Linked DNA regions of Homo sapiens: region 1 is linked to region 2. The links are contacts of gene promoters, found by promoter capture Hi-C in blood cells and fetal thymus (Javierre and others, 2016). All regions are on one chromosome and are shown on one strand. Each heading gives the region's core, a stretch centred on a gene start or on the middle of the fragment in contact. The rest is flanking DNA. Distances are from core to core; before and after follow the strand shown.

What was found. Contacts are between HindIII fragments. The CHiCAGO score rates a contact against its expected background, and 5 or more counts as called.
Region 1: a contact is called between a fragment that was not itself captured here and the fragment with the promoter of FAM133B in region 2, in 1 of 17 cell types (M1 macrophages). The highest score is 5.8, in M1 macrophages.

The regions. Positions count from the first base shown.
Region 1 is chr7:93,006,917-93,013,724 of GRCh38, reverse strand. No RefSeq gene overlaps it. Among named protein-coding and RNA genes, the nearest start is that of SAMD9, 110 kb to the left of the region's middle. The HindIII fragment of the contact is 963 bases long and covers 3,667-4,629 here.
Region 2 is chr7:92,585,821-92,592,257 of GRCh38, reverse strand. FAM133B (family with sequence similarity 133 member B) reads left to right here and starts at 1,868. Exons shown (of 11, transcript NM_152789.4): 1 at 1,868-1,990. The coding sequence starts at 1,967. LOC105375397 (a long non-coding RNA gene) reads left to right here. Exons shown (of 3, transcript XR_927744.3): 3 at 110-238. RefSeq lists enhancers at 1,711-1,990, 2,081-2,140. The HindIII fragment of the contact is 8,062 bases long and covers 1-3,031 here.

The DNA.
Region 1 (6,808 bases), core at 2,899-5,398, 420 kb before region 2:
GGACAGATGTGTCATGCAAACTGTAAGTCAACACAGTAGAGTCAGAAACAAAACCAAGCTGGATAACCATTGGAAACAAAAGGATAATGTTTAGATGTGTGCCTCTTAGAAAAGACTGCTGCTCACAAACCAGCTATTTTGATCACACATAGAAACCCCACTGGATACAGCTGGACAGAGCCAGGTCTTGTGGGCTGGATACTTACATAACATTAAGGCCCTTTTTAAGAAAACATTTTAAAAAATACAAATACAAAACTATGTGCCATATGCCTATAGTTCCAGCTACTCCAGGGGCTAAAGTAGGAAGACCACTTGAGCCTAGGACTCCAAGTTCAGCCTGGGTGACATAGATAGCAAGACCCTTATGTCTTAAAAAAACTTATGTATAGATGTGAAGATTTATTTAGAAGGGGCCTGTGCAAGTGAAGCACCCTGAGGTTTAAGCTTCATTAGTTTCCCAATACATTCACCACTGGTGATAATACTTTTTCCTATAAAATGAACGCTGCATGAATACAGTTTGGGTCAGTTGTGCAATGCTTAGAAAAGCTATAGCTCTACAGTGAGAAGGCTTGTTACAGTTTTACAAAGATTCATGTCACATTAGCATTTCCATATCATAAGGTTAACTCTTCATCGTGTCTTTCCAACCTGCAGGGTGGACACTTAATCTTGAGTTTGAGCCCCAACAGATGTCATAATCTCAGGATTATCTTGATTAGAAGGGCATGTAGATTTGTGCTATTGAGTGCCAGATCAGATCCTCTGAGCATACAAAGAGATAGTCAGAAGTTTTGCACAGAGGCTTTCACAAGATTCTGTTATTCTTCTGTGTTCTCCCTACCTCTAATCTTTATATTGGGATTTATAGTATGATCTAAGTATTCACGTGCTACTGGTACAACTTGCTGTCAATGAGTAACGTAAGTTGGTTCAAAATCAACTTCAAACAATTTGGAGAACTGGTCATTTTAAGCATTAAGGTATATTACAATTATTTTTAAAAGAATGTGAATGCAAAAACCAGTCTAATAATTATTAAAAATGATAAATTTACAGATACCATTAGAAGTAACTGATCCTTTATTGATGTAGACCTCCAACATGATTAAAGAGGATGAAAAAATTTTTGAAGCAAAGCTTTGTCAAAGCAAATATCTTACCTCATGGTAGATATAGTCCAGTGTTATTAGTCCTAATTTTTAAATTTATCTCAGATGAGATCTTCGGGATTTGGATCCAATATTCCTTTCTCTATTCTCAGATGTGCTGTGTTTTACTGATTGATTCCAGGAAGGAAATATAGTTAATTGCTCTTAAGCCATTAAATTCCCCTTTATCTTTGTGACTGTCAATAGCATTAGCAGCAAAAGAATGTACTCCCTCTTAATCCGATAGAAGTATGAAAATCTTGATATTGCAACTGCCTTTTGATATCAATATTCTACATGGCATTTTATTAAGTGGAAAGTGGCAAATATGCTCTTTTTTTTTTTTTTTTTGAGAAAATTAGACTAAAGGTGTTCCAGTCCCAGAGGGGCTTTGAGCTGAGTGGACACAGAAACAGTGAATCACCCTTCTGCATAAAGCTGGCTGCCTGGAAGTTTAACCCCCAAAACAAGTGTGGATGGTAGTCATAACAATGCTATCAGAATACCTTTCTCTTCCAAAAGGAATTGGGGCATTGTTCCAGGGTGGACATTACACATTTCCCACATGGCAGCAGGAATTCTAAAATTGTTGAAGTTGCTATGGTGGTCACCAATCAAGAAATACAAAATATATACAGTTTTTAATTAATTCAAACATTTATTGAAAGTTTATATAGATACAGGCATATAGAAATGCTCTTGTGGAACTTAAAATTTATATTATGTGTATATATTCATGTATTTACTTCTCACATACTTAGCACGTAGACACCACACCGGACACACACACATGCATACACGATTGGTCATTTCCAGCAACTTTGACAATCTACTACAAAGCCAAGAACTTCTGAGTCATGTAGAAGGCAAACCATGTCAGAATGTTTAATGAGAAAAAATCATGAGCTCATAGAAGAAGCCTTTGGGCCTCACACAAAACTCATGTGCTCTTACTTTTCTCACAATTCCAGCAAGCTTCGATTATCTCATATCTAACAGAGCTGTTGAATAATCTCATTAGCTCATCGCAAAATAAAAGGCGTACCAACAGCAGGGGAGGGGAGTTATTAAGTGAATACAGTAAGTAAAAAGCACAATAATTAGGGACTATTTAATGCAGGGGCAAACAACAGTATACCCTCAGTAGTCCCTGAGTTACTAGGTGAGATTAAATTATGTTCAGCATTATCCATCACCAAGACAAGGAAGTGTTAATTCGTTTTGTTAAAAAGGTTGAATTTTTAAGCTGATACTTTGTTCTATTCCTTCAATAATATTGATAACAAATGAGCTGTTATTATGCAAAGATACTTGTTACTCACCATTAAACTCATATTTATCACATTTTGCCCTTTTCTAGTTTGGGGAGAGAAAATGATAGATTGGACAATATAGACTGGTAAGTGTGATATAAGGCACACTTCTTCCAATTTGAAAATACCCTAGCAAATGAACTGTTTCTGTCCAAAATATTCCTTTGGTGATAGAAAGGAGGGTCCCTGCATCCAAAAAACAAGGATAAAGCTCTGTCTTCAGCAGAAATCTCCTTGATTTGTGACTTTATAGTTTGCATGACTAACGTTCTTGATTTCTCATTTTTATAGATTGAATTGGTGAAAGTGATTTTATGTTCCCTGGAATTCCCAACACTTAAAAAGTAAGCTTTTTGCATTTCAAATGCAACCTATACAAACTGTTTTGTTTACAAAGCCTCTGAGGTGAGAAGCCAGAGTTCCAAGCATCAGGAAACCATGGGTGAGCAAGATAATTTGACAGTCAGAAAAGTCGAGCTGTTCAATAATGCTACCACTTGCCTTCCATGGAGATCTGGGATTAGTGACTTCCATGACGAATTACACACATCATGGACGTGAAGTGATCTGTTTAAGGGGTTCATTTGCAAGAGCACATGAAAGCAAGAACTTATAATGAACTCTTGGAATACTTAAAGCTTAGTAGTAACAGATATAAATTACTGCAGGAAGCAAAGGATGCTTCCAGAATATGTACAAGTGTTCAGAGTCCTTTTCTGGGAAAAAGAAATATCCCCTCCTAGTATTTCCAAATTTGAACACTCTAGGAGAGTATACTAAACGTTAGAGGTTTTTCACCATTCGATTTTAAGATTTAGTAAAAAGCTACACTAATTAAGTCAATGTGGTGTTTGCATAAGGACAAACATAGAAGAGAATCAAAAATAGACCCACACAGCCGTTTGATTTTCAACAATGATGTCAAGGTTATTAAATGGGGAATAGAGTTGTTTCAATAAATGGTATTGGACAAATGGGTATACATATGAAAAAAATGTGAACCTTTGCCACCATATTTAAAAAATTAACTCCATATGGCTCACAGAATTAAGCATAAGTGCTAAAATGATAAAATATGTAGAAAAAAGGAAAAGGAGAAAATCTTGGTTACCTTGAGTTAGTCAAAGATTTCTTAGGACACTGAAATCATGAATCAAAAAGAAAAAAATGGTAAATTAGACTTCATTAAATTAAAAGCTTCTGCACTTTCAAAGATCTGAAAGACAATGTTAAGAAAATTAAAAAGCAAGACACAAGGTGGGAAAAATATTTACAAATCACATATCTGATGAAGGGCTTGTATCCAGGATATATAAAAGAACTCTCAAAACTCATAAGAAAGCAAACCACACAATTTTTAAAAAATAGGCAAAAGGTTTGAATAGATAACTTACAAAAGAAGATACACAGATGGCAAATAAGCACAAGAAAAGATGCTCAATGTCATTACTTATTAGAGAAATGCAAGTTGAAGCCATCATATGATACACGCATCAGAGTGGCTAATTTATTACACCTATCAGAGTGGCTAATTTAAAAGAATGACAATAGCAAATGTTGATTGGGATGCAGAGCACCTGAAATTCTCATACACTGCTGGTGGAAATGTAAAATGGTACTATCACATTGAGAAAAAGTTTAGCAGCTAGTTACACATTAAACAAAAAATTACCATACAATGTAGCAATTCCATTTCTAAGTATTTACCCACAAAAAATAAAAACATATGTCTGCACAAAAACCTATATGAAATTTTTATCTTTTATTTCTACAGTTCTATTCACAGTCACCAAAAGCTGGAAACAACCTAAATGGTCAAAAAGGATGAATAGATAAACTGTGGTACATTCATACAATAGAATACTACCCAGTAACAAAAAGTAACAAACTAATGATATGCACAACTGTGGGTTAATTTCAAGAGTATTATGCTGAAAGAAAAGAGCCTTACTCAAAAGGCTTCCTAAAATGATTTCATGCTCCTCATCTTTGCCATTTTAACCCAATTATAATTGCAGCATAACACTAAGGCATATTGTAGAATACAACGCTTTTGTGTGTATTTTCTATTTGATTAATCTCACAGGGTTTTTTTTTTCTACTTAACTGAACTACTTATCAATAGAAGTTAAAGAGTTTCTCTTGAAAGTCAGCCAGAAGCTTTTTACCAACAGATGTTCAGTGCTTGAAAGATAGTTCTCAGTGACAATTGGCCAGTTCAAACAGCCTCTCCACACTTTGAAAATGCCCTGAATTCGACTTTATTACTGAGTCTAATCCCATTGAGGAAGGAGTCTAGGGACAACAGACTGGTTTGGAAGAAAAGAATTTGAGAATTGATAGCTAGTGGCAGATTGGAAATTCATAATTAAGAGCAGAAAATCTGGTATGTTATCGGTACTTTGTCACCCCACCAAATCATCAGTGAACTAACCATGTCTAGTTAACGTGTTGTGGAATTTAACTCGTTTCTGTAATGCATCTATGTAGTCTTTCCTTGAAATGAGAGAAGAGAAAAAATAAAGGTTGCCTTCAAGAATTGCCATGCATTGATTTCAAGGATAGTAGAACTTGCTTCTCTGAATTATTTTGAGGATTAAATAATGTATTAAACTATCCTGTACAATACTGACCATTTAATATATGTTCAGCAAATGTTGATTTCTCCTCACTTCTTTTATACAAAGGAGAATATTTTTAGAATTGGAAAGACCTCAGAGGTTACCTGGTCTAGTGTTTTAATTTTACAAATGAGAAAACTAGGTTCGATGAGATTAAGGGGTTGCTCAAACTCACTCAGAGTTAGAAGTCCAACTTCCAGTTCACATGAATCCTTTCCCTAAAGCACCTGCTTTCAACTGTGGTGTCTCAAGCAGCAGAGCTGGAGGGAGAACTGAGGGACCAAATAATTTTATCCTAAATAAACCATATTTAGGGATCACGGACTCTTGCTTCTGGGCTTCTTGCTCTGTGTTTATTTTGGCTATTTTCAATTATTTTTTGCTTCCAAGAATGGGAGATAATGGGAAGCCTTTCTCTTTAAGGACTAGGATTGCTAAATTTAGCAAATAAATTACAAAGTGCACAATTAGATTTGAACCTCAGATAAAAAACACTTAATTTTTTAGTTTCATGAAGTATTTGGAATATACCTATGCTGACAACTTCTCTGTGTTCTCTGTTAGGGAACAATCAAATATGTGGTTCTCAACCATGACTTTTTTTTTTTTTTTTTTTTGCTCTAAAGCAAATAAGCAGTAGCAAAATGGTCACTACCTCCATGCATGAGTCTTGGCTGCCTGACAGTTTCTGCCCATGACCATTTTCCCTCACCTGGGATCTGGATAACTGTAATGGACAGCCTCTGTGGCGAAGTCTGTGCCTCATGGAGATGGTGATGGGGCAGGGCAAAGTGGATGATGTACCTAAGTGGCATTGGGAGGACATGTTTTGCCAAACAGGAAGTAGACAATTCTACCATCCAGCAGACCACGGTTCAAATCCCTTTCCCTCTTTCTAGCTGTATGGCTGTATGACTTTCAGCAAGTTGCTTAAACTACCCCCAACCACCCACTCATCCTCAGACTCTGCTTTTTCCTTCATAAAATAGGTCTTTATTTCCTTCACAAACCTTAAGTTTTTGTGAAGATTGAATATAATGAGAAGAAAGTGCTGGTCATTGTACCTAGAATATAACTAGAGTCTTATAAATTATCATTTCTAAAATTGTACACACGTTTTACATACTTGTCTGTGTATTTGCTGTAGTTCACACTAAAAACTGTTTAAACAAAAGAGCGTGGGCAAACTTGCAAGGGTCTTGAATGGCAGAACGTGGAGTTTGAAGACTAAATTTTATCCTCCAGTTATGAGGGAACTGTTGGTATCTGCACAATGTTTGAGACCCAGAGTCAGACAACTTCCTCCCAAGTTTCCCCTAAAAACTATCTGGGAAATTTTGTAGAACATCATTTCCTGAAGGATCACGAACACATTCACCAACACAGGATGAACTGACCTGCCTTCTCCAGGTTTCTTCCGCTAGAACCTTGACAGAGTAGGCAAGAAGTTATGACTCTTCCCACCCATCTACTTTGTGCTGTATGAGAAATGGATAAACATTGGACATAACCAGGTAGTAATTCCTGCTCCATCACTAAGTCATTAGTAGAATGGCCTTGTACAAATTAATCAATTTTTCTGAGACTTTATACAGTAGGGATAATACCACTAAGCCAGCAGATTCTTAGAATTAGAAGAGTCTAATGCAGTGCCTGGTTATAGGAGCTGCTCAATAATCTGTGTGTTTATTTCCTACCTCTTTGGAACACTACACTGAAG
Region 2 (6,437 bases), core at 619-3,118:
GACTGATTTGTTCTTTATGTAGTCCACTCAGATGAGCTCCCGATAGCTCTTGCCATCTTCCTTATCTTCACAGGCCCCTGGTCATTTTCTTGTTTCTCTGTCCCCCCAGGGATTCACGTTTCATCCAGGAGGGGTTGTGTACACTCGCAGAGAGAGAGAGACTTCTAAAGGAAACACAACCTTTCTGTTGACTTATACCATATTTTTAAAAATCTCTGTGTTCTGTACAATCAGCCAACCAAGGAAGTGAAAGGTAAGAAGGAGCTGAAGAGGGAAAAAAAAAACTATATTCTCTCACAGGTATTATCATGCTTATCATGTTGGAGTATTAAAAATAATATCTGTCAAATGCCTAGAATATTTAAAACATGAAAAATAAGCCAGGAAAGAAAGAATAACTTAATATTAATAGGTTCTCCTCTTCCTCTTGTGTATAAAAAGAAGCCTGTCTTCAGTCAGAGTCCCCAGCTTAAGTCGGGGGTAATGGAGGAGGAGGAGAAATGAGAGACTGGAGGCCTCATTTTGGAAAGTGGGTTACTGAGGAAGAATCAACACTTAGTAGGGAGCAGAACCACCAAGGACTGCATGTGAGAGTTTGGAAAAGTTTTGAGACAGAAGATGGTAGTTGGGAGCATCTGTCATATAGTGTAGCATGAAAAATGCAGGGAGGGAGGGAGGCAGAGATCGGGAAAGATGATTTTAAAGCATGTTCTTGTATGTAATTAGTGTAATTCCCATTTTGCCATTTCCAAGAGTCCGGAGAAGATCCTAATTGATTTTCAACTACTTCCTAATGATACTTGCTAAGATGAACCCAGAGGGGTCGCTTTATCTATAAATACTTACTAAATATGATTATCTTCTCTGGAGCCCAGATCATCTTCCTTAAAGTTGCAGTGCAGTAGTGCCAATATTACGATATGCTATGCAGTAAAGTTGGCCCTGTGTGTGTTTATTGCCCTTACGAGTTTATAAACAGGCTCCTTGACGATAGGGATTTTTCTTAATCATCTTTGTGCCCTACCCAGCTCCAGCTTCCAGCCACCCAGTTAGTGAAAACTGTACAAACTACATGTTCAAAAATTAGTGTGAAATGAATGCACAGGTGATGAATGAATGGGATTGAAATTAAAGGGTGATTTCGTTAGCAGCGTCTATGACAGCACTGCCTTTCCCCCCACCAGCTGATGGGCTCCGTGAGGGACCAAGGCTCTTTGGTCCTCACTTTGTCCCCAGCACTTGCACTCTGTCAAGCACAAAATAAGCATCGGGAGAATCTTTGTGTCCCCTCGAATGAGTATTTCAGTGTATCAAGAATGGAAGAAAGGCCAAGCGCAGTGGCTCATGCCTGTAATCCCAGCACTTTGGGTCGAGGCGGGCGGATCACTTGAGGTCAGGAGTTATAGACCAGCCTGGCCAACGTGGTAAAACCCTGTCTCTACTAAAAATACAAAAAATTTAGCCCGGCGTGTTGACGGCCGCCTGTAATCTCAGCTACTCGGGATGCTGAGGCAGGAAAATCGCTTGAACCCGGGAGGTGGAGGCTGCAGTGAGCCTAGATCGTGCCACTGCACTCCAGCCTGGGCGACGGAGCGAGAGTCTGTCTAAAAAAAAAAAAAAAAAAAAAAAAAAAAAAAAGAATGGAAGAAAGCAAAACAATCCAAGGCCAAACTGAAGCGAGCTGCCTTGGTGGGGCTCCGGTGCAGAAGCGCAGCGTCGCCTGCTCTTGGGTGCCTAATGAACGACCGGACTCCTGCAGGCGCTCCGCCAACTGCAGCGATCTCTGGAGCCGGCCTGTCCTCCACAGAGATAGGGGGCGCTGTAGCAGAGCGCGGCCGTCGAGTCCGCGTGGTGCCGCTCTCTAGGCGGAGTGGGGAGGCGGCAAGAGGACCTGCGGCAGGCCCTCTTCGGCAGTCTCTCCGGCCCGGTTTCCCTCGGCGTGCTACTGTGCGCTCGATCCAGCACCATGGGGAAGCGGGACAATCGGGTGGTGAGTACTCAGCCGGGAAAACAGTGGGGCGACGCAGGGCCCGGCGGCAGGACAGCGAGAACCCTCGCTGTTCCCGGCCGGGCCGGAGGGCAAGCGGCAGCCCTCAGACGTGGGGCCTGGAGACCCAGCACCCTCCGCCGATCCCAGATGCGCGTGCGCCGCGCACGCAGTTGGCGCTTTAGGGTTCCCAGCTCTCTCTTGCCCGCCCCTTTTTTCTTCCCTCACCTCGTCGCTCTTTCTGGCGCTGCTGGTTTGCACTCTTGCCTGCTGTACGCGGGCCCCCAGTGCCCACTTAGAACCGCGAGGGCTCGGGGAACCCCCCCCACACCTGGCCCCGCCATGTAACTCCGAAGACTTAGGCCCTTGGACGCATCCGACTCACCCGCCCCTTGGTATCGGCCGCCCCAGGTCCGCACCCCTCTCCTGCGCACCCAAGTGGGAGGGAGGCACAGAGGCCTCGACGCGGTCCCTGTGCCGGAGAGCCAGCAGCGCGCCTGGTTTTAGCGACAAGCAGGCTCCCGTTTGAAAATGGGATGGCAGCATTTGCTTTCGTGTCTCCAGCGCCCTGTAGGACCTGGCCCCCATAGACACTGTGAGGGAATGAATGGCGTGAAAATAGTTGGCTTTCGAGTCCAACACAAAACTGGAATGTCAGTTTTGTTCCGTCGGAAGTTGGGTGACCTAGAACAAGTTACTTTTCTTCTCTGTGCCGTCGTTTATAAAAGGGGATCATTATTATCTACAACCTTACAGATTAATTGAAATCACAAAAGGCAAGATGTGTGAGCGAGTACTGGGCATGAAAATTATTACTCTAGTGAATGAGATAAAAGAGATGCATAAATAACTTACAGCAGAAAGAGTAGGAAATGGTCCTTGATAGTTGTTAGAGATTCTAAAGGCATTCAAAAGAAAAGGTGCTTTTGAGAAGCGGAGATGGGAGGAAAGTATTCTAGACCGCTGGGGCGGGGAGGGGGCTGAAAAACTCAGGTTATGAATCAGATTGAATGAGTAGTAAACATAATGAAATAACAATAAGCTTAGGTTGCAGCCTGACAATTTCTGGGCTTGCCTGTGACAAAGTTTTAGCCACTGAGTAGCAAAATGAGGAAAATGCACGTAAAACGAATGTGCTACGTTTCTTGAACTCGCTTTTTTATTCAACAATTATTTGCAAGCTGTGTGTGTCTCACACCAAAGGAGACTTAACATTTACGAAATGATGACACTTGCCATCTGTAGTAGCCAGTTCTTGCATGGCTTTTATAAAGAAAAACCTGAGGCTGGGTAATTTATAAAGAAAAGTGTTTAATTGGCTCACGGTTCTATGGGCTGTACAGGAAGCTTAGCGGCATCTGCTTCTGGGGAGGCCTCAGGGAGCTGTTACTCATGGTGGAAGGCAAAGCAGGAGCAGGCGTCTTACATGGCAGGAGCGGGACCAAGAGAGGGACGGGGAGAGTTGCTACACAGTTTTAAACAACCGCATCTGTTGAGAAATCATCTCTATGCAGTGCTGGGGAGAGGAGGATGCTAAGCCATTCATGAGAACTCCGCCCCCATGATCCAGTCACCTCCCACCAGGCCCCACCTCCAACATTGGGGATTACAATTCGACATGAGATTTGGGCGGGGACACAGATCCAAACCATTTCACCATCTTAAAAACTTTGTAGTTCTGTATAGTCTTTATAATGGAAAATGTCTAGGAACCACTGTGGTAGTGAATCTTGATTACAAGATAGCGGGTTGTTCTTTCTCCTGGCTGTAGGTGAGACTTTGTTGTGCTATCTTGATTGTCATGGCGTTGAAATTATGTAGCATAACACCATTTCAGCATAGGAGCATCCTTAGGTGTTTGAGTATTTTGGGCTCTTCTAATACCCTTGGGCCTTGAATGTTTAGAGATCACCTGACCTTGGATGCAGTTTCATATACAGACCTAAAATGTTTCATATTACTGAAAAAACGTTTTGGTTGAAACATTCCTCTAAAACATTTGAAAAACTTACCAAATTAGCTTCATTTACTAGAACATTTTGATAGCTCTGGGCTCTACTTACTACTTTTGGTATGCAGCTATGGCACAGAGTATTCTGGTAACATTTTGTGTGCACTTCAAAGATTGGGATTAAGAACAAGAAATTAAGAGGTAGAAGACACGGATTGTCTAATTCAGTCTCCTCATTGCATAGAGGAGGGGTAAGACTTTAAACTGGGACCAAAACTTCAGTCATCTGACACTCAATTCTGTACATCTTAACTCTTGATTTTCTTTTTAAGACTTTTTTTTTTAAGCATTTTTAGTTTTACAGCAAAATTGAGAGGAAGGTACAAAGATATCCCGTTTACCTCCTGACCCCACTCGTGCATAGCCTCCCCATTATGAACATCCTTCACCAGAGTGGTACATTTGTTAAAATTGATGAACCTACATTGACATGTTACTATCATCCAGTCAGTAGTTTACATTAGTGCTCACTCTTAGTGTTCATTCTCTATGGGCTTGGACAAATAAATTTATTTATTTATTTATTTAGACACAGTATCTCACTCTTGCCCAAGCTGGAGTGCAGTGTCGCCATCATGGCTCACTGCAGCTTCAACTTCCCAGGCTCAAGGGATGCTCTCACGTCAGCCTCCCAAGTAGCTGGGACCACAGGTGTGTGGAACCACACCTGGCTAATTTTTTGTTGTTTTTTTGTAGAGATGGGGTTTCACCATGCTGCCCAGGCTGGTCTCAAATTCCTGGCCTCAAGCAATCCTCCCGTCTCGGCCTCCAAAAGTGTTCGGATTACAGGAGTGCCACCACATGCGTTCACCAATATAGTATCATAAAGAGTAAAAATCCTCTCTTCGGCCTAGCCATTCCTCTACCACCCCTGTCCCCAAGTGTGGCAACCACTGATCTTTTTACTGACTCCATAGTTTTGCCATAACACTTGATTTGGAGCAACAAAATGAATATTTGCTTGTGAAAATATTGGCATTTTTTGAGATTGTCTCAAAAACAGTTCCTGTTCTTTCTTACATTGATGAAACAATCATAGTTTTAAAGATGATAGGATTGCTTTCCAAAAAAAGCCCCAGTGAATTTCAGGTTGAACAGTTTTTTTAATTTTTATTTTTAGAGCAGTTTTAGGTTCACAGCCAAATTGAACAGAAAGTACAGAGGGTTCCCATATACCTCCACACTTGTGCAGCTCTACCATTATCAACATTCGCCAGCACCAGCAGGGTGGTACATTTGTTACATTTCATGAACCTACATCGACACATTATCATCACCCAGAGTCAGTAGTTTGCATTAGGGGTCACTCTTGGTATGCATTCTTGTACAGTTTTTATAACTGAACGTTTTAATTCAGGACTTGTAAAGGGCTCTTAAGTTCATGATGGCCACCTTTTGTGCTTGTTATTTTCCGAAGTGTTCTTCATGTTCTTTTCTGCTACTTTGGGACCTCTAAAATAGATGTATCCTCTAGATAAAAATAGGTAATCAAATTGACAAATGAAATTCTGCACATTGTGTCTTTAGCCAGTTTTACTGCATTGCTCTTTTTGTACCTGCCCCCATACATATCCCCTTGAGACCAATTTGCCATCCTGAGTTTCAGAAACAAATCATTTTCTGTTATCTGAACTCATGCAGCAGTTTGAAGCCACAGAGAATTCTAGTTACATATGGATGTGAATGTTTGATTTACAAGGTCACAGTGTTTATAATGATTAAGTCATAGTGAAATGTTTCAAGAAATTGCACAATCTCTATATTTTAGTGAATGCTTAACCATGCCACCCACTTAATGTTAGAAGCATTATTTTTCACACTGATACAAAAATGAAAACTCCTGTACCTTTGTGAAAATAGTTGCTTGTTTTAAAAGCTTTCTGTTGTGCATAGTTTTAAAGAAAAGTATTGTTGCTTAATGAATAAGAGCAGACTATCAAGTGTTTTGCATGGAGCCTAGAACATAAGATGCACTTTAAAAAATATTGCTATTATAATTGAAATAAACAATGGAGATATTTGGAGTGTACTTAAGCAGACTGAGATAGTGTTTGTGGTCAAAAGCTTAAAAGTAAGCCTTATTCAGCAGTAGTTCATGTAATTGTACCCGTAGTCCTAGCATGTGAATATACTACTTTACTAGCATTTTCCTCTGAAAAGTAGGAATAGGTTGGTATGTACTTTATGAAAGCAGTTTGATAGTACACAGTAAGATGTAAAAATATTAATGTACTTTAAAGATACATGCTAGATAACTTGAAGACTGTAAAACATGGTAAATGTTATAATTTTTTTCATTAGAATGAAAAATTGCCACTGCATTATCTGTGAATTTTTACATAAGGACAGTTCAGCTCTCTGAGTTGGAGTGGCAGTATTGTGGTTGGATTTTTGTCATTTTCTTTACCTTTATTACTATAATAATGTTTACGCAGTTAC